Linked DNA regions of Homo sapiens: all the other regions are linked to region 2. The links are contacts of gene promoters, found by promoter capture Hi-C in blood cells and fetal thymus (Javierre and others, 2016). All regions are on one chromosome and are shown on one strand. The core of a region is centred on a gene start or on the middle of the fragment in contact, and the rest is flanking DNA. Distances in the headings are between cores, read along the strand shown. Region 1 overlaps ARFRP1 (ARF related protein 1). Region 2 holds the start of DNAJC5 (DnaJ heat shock protein family (Hsp40) member C5). Region 3 overlaps RTEL1 (regulator of telomere elongation helicase 1). Region 4 overlaps RTEL1 (regulator of telomere elongation helicase 1).

What was found. Contacts are between HindIII fragments. The CHiCAGO score rates a contact against its expected background, and 5 or more counts as called.
Region 1: a fragment that was not itself captured here is called in contact with the fragment with the promoter of DNAJC5 in region 2 in 4 of 17 cell types (monocytes, naive CD4 T cells, naive CD8 T cells and 1 more); the score reaches 7.7 in monocytes.
Region 3: a fragment that was not itself captured here is called in contact with the fragment with the promoter of DNAJC5 in region 2 in 3 of 17 cell types (neutrophils, monocytes and naive CD4 T cells); the score reaches 5.4 in neutrophils.
Region 4: a contact is called between a fragment that was not itself captured here and the fragment with the promoter of DNAJC5 in region 2, in 1 of 17 cell types (monocytes). The highest score is 6.9, in monocytes.

The regions. Positions count from the first base shown.
Region 1 is chr20:63,701,404-63,704,540 of GRCh38, forward strand. It overlaps ARFRP1 (ARF related protein 1), which reads right to left. Exons shown (of 8, transcript NM_001267547.3): 5 at 733-814; 6 at 427-497. Among named protein-coding and RNA genes, the nearest start is that of ARFRP1, 5.0 kb to the right of the region's middle. The HindIII fragment of the contact is 735 bases long and covers 1,187-1,921 here.
Region 2 is chr20:63,893,597-63,896,572 of GRCh38, forward strand. It overlaps DNAJC5 (DnaJ heat shock protein family (Hsp40) member C5), which reads left to right and starts at 1,530. Exons shown (of 5, transcript NM_025219.3): 1 at 1,530-1,727. RefSeq lists enhancers at 743-912, 845-1,372, a cis regulatory region at 828 and a silencer at 1,372-1,611. The HindIII fragment of the contact is 2,023 bases long and covers 599-2,621 here.
Region 3 is chr20:63,661,753-63,664,758 of GRCh38, forward strand. RTEL1 (regulator of telomere elongation helicase 1) reads left to right here. Exons shown (of 35, transcript NM_001283009.2): 4 at 98-191; 5 at 794-875; 6 at 1,077-1,137. It overlaps RTEL1-TNFRSF6B (RTEL1-TNFRSF6B readthrough (NMD candidate)), which reads left to right. Exons shown (of 38, transcript NR_037882.1): 4 at 98-191; 5 at 794-875; 6 at 1,077-1,137. Among named protein-coding and RNA genes, the nearest start is that of RTEL1, 4.9 kb to the left of the region's middle. The HindIII fragment of the contact is 3,638 bases long and covers 1-3,006 here.
Region 4 is chr20:63,682,651-63,685,468 of GRCh38, forward strand. The region is part of intron 14 of RTEL1 (regulator of telomere elongation helicase 1); the gene reads left to right. The region is part of intron 14 of RTEL1-TNFRSF6B (RTEL1-TNFRSF6B readthrough (NMD candidate)); the gene reads left to right. Among named protein-coding and RNA genes, the nearest start is that of TNFRSF6B, 13 kb to the right of the region's middle. RefSeq lists enhancers at 1-62, 789-1,513. The HindIII fragment of the contact is 9,518 bases long and covers 1-2,818 here.

The sequences.
Region 1 (3,137 bases), core at 304-2,803, 190 kb before region 2:
GCCCTGGGGGTGGGGCTGGCACAGATGCCACCTCCAAGGGTAGCAGGAACAGGTAAGGGTCAGAGCTGACTCCCACCAGGGCCCCAGCATCACTTCTTTGAGCTCTGAGTTTCACCTGGGTGTCCCCACAGCTTGGCCACACACTCCTGAGACACGGCCGCCCTCCTGGGGAGAGGTGCCCTGCATAGCAGGAAGAGGCCTCTGGGCGCCTGCCCTGAGGTGGGAGAACCTCCAGGGCTGGCAGCAGCAGGTCTGGAGAGGAACCAGGCTTGGGAAGCTGCTGGGGGCAGGGCAGGCCTTGAGAATGGCTCTGTACCCCCTGGGCAGTCACTGGGCCTGGGGTGTCTGGGTGCACACCTGCTCCCCTTGCTGTGGGGGAGGCTGGGGACTCGGGAAGCTGCTGCGGGAGGCAGGGGTGGGGCTCACCTCCACATCCTGCTTGTTGGCCAGCACCAAGACGGGGACACCGCACAGCGCCTCGCTGGTCACCACCTTCTCTGGGGAGGGCAGGAGAGGCAGCGCCTCACACCCAGCATCCTGCCTCTGACTGCCCAGGGGCCCACAGGCGTGGACACTGTGACAGCCACTCCCTCTGCCCCCCCCCCCCCCGTCACCCACTAGGCAGGAGCACTTCTGACCAGACACTGAGCCTGCCCCAGGCACAGAGCTGCCCAAGCTGGACCTGCCCCCACTCACCATCCATCCCTCCCAGAGCAGCCAGGCCGCACTCACCAAACGCCTGCTTGGACTCAGCCAGCCTCTCCTCGTCGGTGGAGTCAATGACGTAGATGACGCCGTGACACTCCGCATAATACTGGGAGGAAGCACCAGGAGTTGGGGCTCAGTCCCCACCCTGCCAAGGGCCAGCAGAGCCAGGCCTGTGTCATGGCCACAGTGAGGGGCTCACATGAGGAAGGGGCAAGAGGGCAGCCCCCAACTGCAAGACCCTTCTGGGATGCATTCTGGGGTTGCGGGGAGATCTGGTGGAGGTGTCCCCAGACGCTGCTCCTGAGAACCTGCCGGCAACCTTTGGCCTGATGGTGGCCAAAGGTGAAAGACAGGGATTGGGCCAGGCGTGGTGGCTCACACTTATTATCCCAACACTTTGGGAGGCAGAAGCAGGAGGATCACCTGAGCCCACTTCACGGCCAACCTGGGCAACACAGTGAGACTCCGTCTGTACAAAAGCTTATGGTAATGTGCGCCTGCAGTCCTAGCTACTCGGGAGGCTGAGGTGGGAGGATGGCTTGAGCCTGGGAGGTTGAGGCTGTAGTGAGCTCTGATCACACCACTGCACTCCAGCCTGGGTGAGAATGAGAGACCCTGTCTCAAAAAAAAGATAGGGTTTGGGGGCTGGAGGAACCTAGACCACAGCCTGGCCCGTTGAGGGAGTGCACCTGTGGGGCTCTGTGCCAGCACCTCGCACAGGGAGGGAGTGTGGCCATGCGGATAAGACTGACCAGCGCCATCTACGAAGCGAGCCTTCCCTGCCAGGACAGGGCCAGAGTCACTGAGCTCAGACCTCTGCAGCCTGGGCTGGTCAGTCCTGGGCTCGCTGGCAACACTCCTGGGCAAGACAGGGCACAGCCCCTGCAGCCTCAGGTACAAGTGCTGAGCCCTGGACCAGATGAGTGCACCTCTATCTCAATCAGAAAAAAACACAGCAAACTCCGCGTCCACGTGGAGCAGACAACAGCTCACATTTGCCACTTTGCCTCCAGGCTGTGCCAGCTCTCCTGTCCAGGCATGAGTGCCCAGAGACCTAGAACTGGATGCTGACCAGGTAGGACAAGCTGGTGGTCAGTGTGTTAAGACACACACACCCGAGAGCATGAGAAGCCAGGAGGCACAGCCCAACTCTCCGAAATCCTTAGGGTGTCTGAGCAGGGAGTACCAGACAACCCCATCCCAGTGCCAGACAAGCTTGTGCACCTGCACTTCCCACAGAGGAGAGAAGCCTGTGCACCTGCACTTCCCACAGTGGAAAGGAGGAGGCCCAAGGCCAGGCCCCCCCACCCCCAGGAACTTCCCACAGTGGAGAGGAGGCCCAAGGCCAGGCGCCCTCCAGGGTTCTGCAGGTAGCGAGGCCCCCCCACCCCCAGGAACTTCTCTGGCCTACAGACAGGTCCCACACAGAGGCCGCCAACCCCTCAAGGGACCCTGCAGTGTGCCGGCTGTCTGCTGCTGACACAAGGGAGCAGGCGGACCCTAAGGTGGAGACCTCTGTGGCAGGAGGGGCGGCTCTGTGGAGGCTGCAGCAAGCCCAGTGAGAGAATCTCCACGTGGCTCCTGGGGCTTCTGAGCAGGGTGGCAGAAGGTTCATGTGCAACCGGGTCCTGGACCATGGGACCACGTGGCCAGAGCCACCCATCACACCTACCAGGCACAAGGTGCACAGCCCAGCAGGGCCGCAGTGGACGGGAGCGACACCTCAGGGCTGAGTGCGGGCAGGACCCAGAGCCCCACGCCCCAGTGGAGGCGTCACAGCAGTGGTCATTGTGGGGTGCCCCACAAGGAGGGGGAAGAGGGAGGTGTCCAAGCGTGGCTCCTGGCTGGCCAGCTGACCCCAGTGGAGCAGTCAGAGGGACTGTGGGTCTGAGTTTTTCTCCCCAGCAGCAATGGGAGCTCCCCAACTGCAAAGTGCCAGCCAGCCTGAGAGACTAGTGTTACAGCAAAGAACCCAGGAGCTGAGGTCCTGGCACATGCCACACATGTGGACACCAACCCAGGGTCCAGCCCCAGGACGAGGCCAATTCGCAATGACGCCCCTTTCTGTGGTGCTGGCTCTGCACAAGGATGCAGGATACAGGAAACCAGGGTGGGAGCAGGGGCCTCCCTTCCGGTCCCTCCCAGTGACCTAGGGGGGTCCCTGCAGCTGATCCTCCCAGCTCTGAGCTCAGCAGGGTCAGGGGTCCCGGCCACTAGAGCAGCACATACTCAGCAGACACGCTGAATGACGAGCCACAGCTGCCTCATGGGCATGACTTGCACCTCATGTCTAGGAGACCCTGGTGGGCAGGAGATGGGGCTGCCATCCCACAGCTGTCCCACAGCTGGGGACCCAGGGAGCCACTGGCCCCACCACGGTGGTGTCTGGAGAAGGGCTCAGACTGCCAGGAAGTCGCACCCCAGCAGAA
Region 2 (2,976 bases), core at 280-2,779:
AAAAAAATTTTTTTTTATAGAGATGGTGGTCTCACTATGTTGTCCAGGCAGGTCTCAAACTCCTGGGCTCCAGTGATCTTCCTGCCTTGGTCTACCAAAGTGCTGAGATTCCAGGCGTGAGCCATGGGTCCCGTTGTATACATTTCAGTAACTATATTATTCCATTTGAGTGCTCACTTGTGCAGTTGGGCAGGTTTCCATTCTCGCTATTAAAAATAGTGCCTTCATGAATATTTCAGTGCATATACCTTTTTCTGTATTTAGGAATATTTTCTTTGGAAGAATGTCCCTAAAGTGGAACTGCTAGGTCTCAGAGGGACTCACTTAAGGCTGGTTCATTCATTCTTGCAGCTCCCAGCACAAGTGGAATATAGCTTCAATCTGAGATCGGTACCAGGCCCATTTCATTCTCTCATCCCTCCAATTCTGGCCTGAAATATTTCATTCTCTTGGAATCTATAGTTGTAGATATGAACCTGGCCTTTCTGCTTCTTGGGTTCCATAGGCCTTTTCTTGCTGCCTGCTTGATGTTGCGCAGCTTAATGACTGCTAGGAGGCTTCCCAAGCTCTGACACTTCCAGGCTGTGAGACTGGAACAAGCTTGGCAATTCAAGACCGGCATTATGGCAGTGAGTTATGAGGGCAGAGGAAGGAGGCCAGAGCGTGTTGAGAGAGAATTTGGGTTTCACGCAGTGTGTCACGGGAAGCCTTGGATGCTACTGGGTTTGTTTTAAAAAGATGACCGCACTGAACTCAGGTAAACGGGCAAGGGTGGAAGCGAGGAGGCAGGAGCACCGGCCGCAGAGGTCTGGGAGCTTCTAGGATGGGAAGTGGCCCAGGCAGCCTACGCGGGGCAGGCCGTCAGTGAGTGGCGGAGCGCCTGCAGTTACAGGGACAGGGAAGGGTGGCCGACGGGATGGGCAAGGGCAGAGGGAGGTGGAGTGGACGTTCGTGGTCCTGCCTCTCCACGCTGCTGTTTGGAGATGATTCCGGGAGGGTGGGAGGGCGCTGGCGACGGCATTTCAGTGGTTGGACAGGAAGGAAGGAAGGACGTCCCATCTCGGCGCTCCAGGGTTGAGCAAATGTCAGTCCCAGGACGGTGGCTCCGGGTGGGGGCGGGGGCGACGGTCCGCAGCCGTCTCCCACCAGCTCCCTGTTCAGTTCTTTGATGAGAACGATTACGTTTTCTCAGTCTTACTTAAAGCGCTGAGTAAACTCACCTGCAAGACCAGCAAGCCCTGCGCTTCTCTTTCTGCGCGGTTCCCCGCAGCACATGGCGTGTCCACCCGGGACCCACCTGCGGCCACCTGAAGACTGGGAGGACTGGCTCCGCCCCCGCGCTTCGTCCCCGCCCACTCATGGGCGGAGCCTCCACAGGGCGCCTCGGCCCCGGGCTGTCACTCGGGACTCCGCCCCTTCATGGACGGAGCCTCCGCTCGGCTCTCTGAGCGCATGCGCAGCCGGTCCCACCCGCGGCTCCGACACGCCGGAGCCCACGTCCTTCCGGGAGCGCGCGCGCCGGTGCGGGTGCGTGCGTGAGCGTGCTCGTCTCCGCTGCCGCTGCCGCTGCCGCTGCCGGTGCCGCACCCGCGCCCTCTGCCGCCGCCGCCGCCGCCGCCCGGGGTCTCCAGGCTGAGGAGTGCGTCGGCCGCTGCCCAGCAGCGCCGCGAATCGGGGAGCGGAGCCGCGGAGCCGGCGGGAGGGCGGGCGGGCGGGCGGACGGGCAGGTGAGCTCGCTGCGGGTCGGGCGGGCGGATCGGCCCACGTCAGGCCCGGGCAGGCGGGCGGGCGGGCGCGGGTGGGGGGCGGGGGCGGCACTCCAGAGCCGGAAATGGCGGCGACCCCCGGGCCGGGGCTGCGCGGGCGCTCGGGGCCGGAGCTGCTGCGACGCCGCGGCCTGGGCCGGGGCGGGGGCGCGGGAAGGTCGGCGCCGGGGCCTGCGGGAGCCGGGCCGGGCCGGGCCGGGGGTCTGAGCACCGTGGTGGGGGCTGGGGCGGCGCTCTCCGCGGGTCTCTTCGGGCCCGGACGCCCCCTCCGCTCCCCCAGGTCCCCGCGGCCGCCCCCAACCCCCCGGGGTCTCCTCTCCTGCGGGGGGACTGGAGAAGCTGGGCCATCGCTGGTCTTAGGGAGGCAGATAATTTAGTCCCTGGGTCGTTGTGTTTATAGCTCGGGGAATTGAAAATTGTTCTGTAACGCATCGTAAATTAATCTTTCCGACGTTGTAAATTCCAAAAAGCATTTGGTTTGTTAGAAAAAACCTGTTTTCTCCGCTTTATAAAAACATTTGAAGCCATGCTTTATATTGAACTCTTAAGGAGAGTATTAGGAACTCGTCCGTTCAGGTTCTAACTTGTTGGTGTTAAGTGTCTGGATTAAAGACTCTCTTTTTCGTGTGCCGAAGCCATGATTTCTCAAATTCATTCAGTTGTGTCATACAGGAAAAGGAAGCAAAAATTTCAGCTTTATTTTTGTTTTCCGGCTTAGGCTTGGTTGGGAAGATTTGATGGTGGTTAGACACGTCTGCCCTTATTTGCCTGTTTAGAAAAACCTATTCTAATGACAAAAACAGTTACATTGCTCCCACTATTGTCATGGTTACCTGAAGGCAAAAGTTTACTCAAAGCTTCTGAGATTTTATGTTCGTTTATTTGCTTCTCTTTTTAAAAAAATGTCAGCTGAGTTTCAGGAATGAGTAGTCTGTCAAACAAGAGATGAAATTAGAAGCCTGGATCTAAGGGCTTTGGGGAAGTTTCGGTTGAGTTCCCCTTTCACTTGTGTCGGTGCTGTAGGACTCGGGGTGGCTCCAGCTGGCGTCTGGCCCAGCAGAGAGCTGTAGGGGCCCGCTCTGGTTGCTGGCTGTGTGGACTCTGAGGGACACCCCTGGCGAGGGTGTTAATGAGCCTGCAGCGTCTGAGTCCACCCACCCTCAGACTGGCCCCTGACTCACTCTGCACCTGCCATATCAGCCTCCTTGCT
Region 3 (3,006 bases), core at 39-2,538, 230 kb before region 2:
TGTCTGCAGGGCCGAGTTAGCCGAATGCCACCTGCCTTTGATACGTGAGAACGTTGTCTGAGAACCGTGACTTCTGTGCTTGCTTGTGTCTGGTCAGCTTGCTACACGGACATCCCAAAGATTATTTACGCCTCCAGGACCCACTCGCAACTCACACAGGTCATCAACGAGCTTCGGAACACCTCCTACCGGTGGGTCAGACGAGTTTACACCTGTCTCGGGGTCCTCAAGAGAACCAGCTTGGCATGGTGCTGAGTCCACAGCCCCATGCTGTGCTGTGGTGGAGGGTGGTGGTCTTTCTAGACGCTCCCCCGAAGTGTGCAGAGCGCTGGTGCCCAGGGGTGGGGTGCGGCCTGGGCTGCCTCCAATGCCCATTACTTGTGAGGAAGCAGCTTTGCATCTGTGTGCTGACCTTGGGCGGGCGTCCTGAGCTCCTCGCAGGTGCTGTTGTAGCAGCTGTGCAGTAGGTCAGGGCTGGCCCCCAGTGCAGCTTTGCACATGAAGTAGGAGGAGGCCCTGCTGCTTGTCAGAGCCCAGCAGAGTCTTGGTGTTCTGTCGGGTTCCTGTGGCCGGACCAGTGGCAGGGTGCTGTGGAAGCTGTCGAATCTCCTCCCTCTGTCCAGTACCCCCGCTCGTCTTCTAGCTCCCTCCTACGCCCGGGCCACGTTTCAGTTATGCTCACTTCCTCTGACCGCCGAGGCTCCTGCGTGTCTCCATACAGCTCACGCTGCAGGGCCACGCTGTGGGTGTTGGAGACAGCTCCTCCTCGACCCACGGTGCTCTCTCCCACCAGGCCTAAGGTGTGTGTGCTGGGCTCCCGGGAGCAGCTGTGCATCCATCCTGAGGTGAAGAAACAAGAGAGTAACCATCTACAGGTAGGCTCCTGGGCTCCCGCTCCGGCTCAGTGTCCGACAGGCGAGTGCTGCTGGGTGTCCAGAGCCCCAGGCTGCGCTCCCGCTGGGCTAGGGTTTGAAGTTCACTGGGGGACTGCAGGGGAGGACCTGGTGGGGGTGGGGACTGGCTTCGGTCCTTTCTTGGCCGTGCTTCAGCTGCGCACTCTGCCCTTCCTCCCACAGATCCACTTGTGCCGTAAGAAGGTGGCAAGTCGCTCCTGTCATTTCTACAACAACGTAGAAGGTACAAGCAGCTGGGTGGGACCAGGGTCGGGTTGGAGTGTGTGCAGCCTCTCAGGGTGGAGCTCAGTGGTGTCACAGCCTGGTTGTGCTTGCCCGGTGGGGCGGCCAGTGCGGCCATGTACCTGGGCCCTGTCTTCTGACTCGGGGCCACCCATGTTAGACTTCTGTGTGGAAGAGCTCACACAGTGGTCTGAGACAGCCAGCCGGCAAGACTGCCTCTGGCTGGTGCCTGGGGCCTTGGATTTTGGGAAGGCTCCCTCCATTTCCTGATGAGAGGGTCTCCCTGCACCTAACCTGCTGGTGCAAACAGTAGGGGTTTTGCTGAACACCGGCTTTCTCTTCGGGGACTTTGTTGCTTGCCCAGCAGCAGGTGCTCCAGTGACCGGCCCTCATACCATCTTGGGAGGGTGTCCTGGAAGCCGTGTCTGGCCTCCCGCGACCCTGCCCCGTGTGTCTTTTTCCTGTGCTGACCTTGCTGCGGAAAATTATGGCCCTGAGTGTGACTCCAGGCTGAGTCCTGTGGGTCCAACACGGGATGCCTTGGGGCCTCTTCTGGAGACGGGATGTGAGTGACAGGAGCCGGCCGGGGCAGCTTGCCCTGTGACTGCACGTGGCCACAGCCTGTGAGGGCCGGGGGTGCTTCTCCACCCACGTGGCTGCCCCTCGGGTATGTCAAGGGCTTCTGGGGCTCATCACGGGGTCCTAGAGACAGTGGCAGGGTGCACCCCCGTTGGCTGCCCTTACAGTTTCTGTGACCTGAGGGTGGCATCTGTGCAGTCGGCGCGGTCTGTGCTTCTGTGGGATCAGGGTTCCCTCTGTTTCCTGCCTCAGTTGGGGCTCAAGCCTCAGGTGAGGTGGCCCCGGAGCACTCAGAAGGCATCGGCGGTCCTGTGGGCTGCTTTCTGCACTCACGTTTGCTGAGTGCTCAGTGTGCCAGGACTGAGGACCCTGAAGCTGCTCTTGTATTTAGGGCGGCGCTCCCCTGGCAGAGACTGAGCCAGGTGGTCCCGCATGACCCACTACCAGGCGTTTCTGGGCCCTGGCCCTTGGAGGGACAGGGTGGGCGGAACATGGGCCTGCAGGGAGGCTCCCGCTTACTGGAGGCATGTGCTGTGTTGCTGGAGACATCCTCTGTGTTGCTTCTTGTTCGCTGTGGTTTTTGGTCTGGTGGCACCAAGGACCCTCAGTCATCTTGATGTGTGGTTGTCCAGGCCTTTTTGTTGGTCCTAAGAAGGGGCTCTGCCTTTGTGCCCCCAGGTTCCCTGACAGGAGCTGCCGGCTCGTCCCGGTGATGCCTGCAGGACGTGACTCTGGGACGGGGGGTTGGGCAGATGTGCTGATGGAAATTCTCAAGCAGGCGTCATTTCCGAGGTCCTCACCTGGATTTCCAGGACAGGAGTGCCTGCTGGGTGTCCCCAGTCCCATGCAGCGGGGGTCCTTGGGATAGCATGGAACGCTGAGCATGGGCCTGGCCGGCCGTGGTCCTGGACAAGGGCAGTGCCCCGGTGGCTGCTGGGCCTGGGACCTGGTGGGGACGCTGGGCCTGGTACCTGGTGGGGATGCTGGGCCTGGGACCTGGTGGGGAGGCCTCTGACTGCCTCCTGGTGCTGCTTCCGTCTGTGTTAGGCCTCTGGGTATTGGGGCCCCCATCTGTCTCCTCCTCCAGGCCTGTGGACTCAGACCAGGAAGACACAGGCCAGCCCCTGCCTGTCCCCCTTGGCTTGGGCTCTCACTGCCCGACCTGGCGGGAGGTTGCCTAGCCGTGAACCTTCGCACCCTGTCTGCCACCGGACAGGCTGTGAGGGGGTGTCTGCAGCACCTGCACCGGCCTGAGCATCTTCAGAGTGGGCTGCAGCTCCTGGAGGGGTCT
Region 4 (2,818 bases), core at 262-2,761, 210 kb before region 2:
CCCTGCAGGTGTGGGCGGTGCCCATAGGGCTGGTGCTGGGTTGGGCCTGCAGCCCTGAGTCACAGGTGACCCTGGGGGCAGAGTGGGGCCAGTGGCCCCAGGAAGAGGATGTGGGATGCACAGCTCAGCTGGAGGCGAACTCCAGGCAGGGTCAGGCCGTGTGCTCGGAAGTCAGGGCTTAGCTGGAGGCAAACTCTGGGCAGTGCTGGCCCGTGTTGGGGAACCAGTTGCCCCTGGGCCCCCGTGAGACTGCTGGGTCCTCATCCCTCTCTGCCTGAGGCCGGAGCTGCCCTGGGCTGAGGCACAGGGGGATTTGTGGTGGTGTTTTTTTGAGAAAGGGTCTCGCTTTGTCACCCCGGCTGGAGTGCAGGGGCTTGATCACAGCTCACTGCAGCCTCAACCTCCTGGGCCCAAGTGATCCTCTTGCCTCAGCCACCCGAGGAGCTGTGAACACAGGTGTGCACCACCGCACTCAGCTAATTTTTAAAATTTTTTTGTAGAGATGAGGTCTTGCCATGTTTCCCAGGCTGGTCTCAAACTCCTGGGCTCAGGCAGTCTGCCCGCCTTGGCCTCCCAAAGTGCTGGGATTACAGGCAAGAGCTTCCATGCCTGCCCAGCAGAAGGCTTTTCGAAGGAAGCTGTTTCCTGAGGCAGACTCAGCCCTGCTCATGGCAGCCACCAGCGTGGGGGTGAACTTGTTCTGTTACTTCCATCCCCGTGGGCCAAATGCTTTGGTAAAACACAAGGCCCTGTGTTTAGCTGTCTTGACAGTGAAAATGGCTGGGAAGGAAGGAAGGAACGGAAGGAAATTTCTCTCTCCTTCTGTGCGTACCCAGGCACGTGCACATGCATGCAGAGTACGCACACACGCACGCACGCCTGCACAAATCCACGCATGTTGCCAAGTCTCTGTGTTCCAGCCGTGGTGTCTGCCCCCCGGTGTTCTCTAGTTCGGCTTCTCCGCATTTCTGTGAATGATTCCGGCTTCTTGGTGTTCCCAGCAGAACTCCCTCAAGTCTGCGGCGGGGCTCTGACGGCGGTGGCTTGGCTGACATGGCCACATTGCTGAGCCTGTTGGGGGCTTTGCGTTCCTGTTCTGGCCGTTTTTGGCTCGTTTTCCAGGAACGGTCGTCACGCGCTCCTCTCCTAGTGCAGGCATCATTCCTTTCCCATTGATTTGCAGGGTTCTCTGTAAGTTCTGAGGATCCCATATACATATACTCTCTGTAAGTTCTGAGGATCCCATATACATATTCTCTCTCTAAGTTCTGAGGATCCCATATACATATTCTCTCTCTAAGTTCTGAGGATCCCATGCCGACATACATATTCTTTCCTTGTCTCATGCTGGTCATTTTTTCCATTTTCATGACAGGTTTGGTGAACACATGTTTCCTTGTCAGATTTTTGTTCTGAGCTTGTGCCTCCCGACCAAGATGCTAAACCGGGTCTTGTGTATTCTCCAAACTGCACTGTAGAGTGACGGAGCTTTGTGTCTGGGCCTCCATGCCTTCTGACGTCACCTGTGGGGGTGTGAAAGGCAGACTCTACCTTGATTTTTCCCAGCACGCCACACCGGTGGTTCTGTGCGCTGACCGAGCGGCTCGGCTTCCCCCAACTCCACTGGGCACCTGCCACACTTTTCCTCATGTTTTTGTTCACTGTGGTTTTGTCGTAAGTCCTGGTGTTGGCCTGAACCAATTTCTTTTTGTTTGTTTTTGAGACAGAGTTTTGCTCTTGTTGCCCAGGCTGGAGTGCAGTGGCGCGATCTCGGCTCACTGCAAGCTCCGCCTCCCGGGTTCACGCCATTCTCCTGCCTCAGCCTCCCAAATACCTGGGATTATAGGCACCTGCCACCACGCCTGGCTAATTTTTTGTATTTTTAGTAGAGACGAGGTTTCACCGTGTTAGCCAGGATGGTCTCGATCTCCTGACCTCGTGATCCGCCTCCCAAAGTGCTGGGATTACAGGCATGAGCCACCGTGCCCAGCCTGATATTTTTAGTAGAAATGGGGTTTTGCCATGTTGGCCAGGCTGGTCTCGAACTCCTGACCTCAGGTGATCCTCTCACCTTGGCCTCCCAGAGTGCTGGGATTACGGGTGTGAGCCACCACGCCCGGCCTCTTGTTCTTTTGAAACCTGCCCTGACGTTTTTTCCATAGTGCATCTTGGAGTCAGCGTGTCTACTTCCTGTAAAAATCTTACTGTGATTTTGACTAGAATGTGTTGAATTCCTGTTTTTTTTTTGAGTCAGGGTCTCTCTGTTGCCCAGGCTGGAGTGCAGTGGGACCATCACAGCTCACTGCAGCCTCAACCTCCTGGGCTCAGGGGATCCTCTCAGCTCAACCTCCCAAGTAGCTGGGACCACAGGCACATGCCACCATGCCCGGCTAGGTTTTTTTTTTTTTTTTTTTGGTGAACACCCTGGGGTTGCACCATGTTGCCCAGGCTGGTCTCGAACTCCTGGGTTCGGGCAGTTTGCTCCTCTCAGCCTCCCGGAGTGCTGGGATTACAGGCCTGAGCCACTGCACTAGGCCATGTTGAATTTCTAGATTAATTTGGGGCCCTCAGGGGCACAGAGAGGAGGGCTGGGCCAGTTGGCGGGAGGAGAGGCCCCTCGGGCTGCCGCATTTTCAGTGCATGGAGATGGCCTATGTTGGGGGAACACAGAGCTCACCGGGGGTCCCTGCAGGGAGGAGAAAGGGTCAGGCAGGTGCCAGCTCCTGTCCATTGGCCTGGGGCTGCATGATGGCAGGGGCCGGTGAACCGATGACCCCTGGGTGTCCTGTGACCTTCTGTGTATGCGGCTGATGCTGCA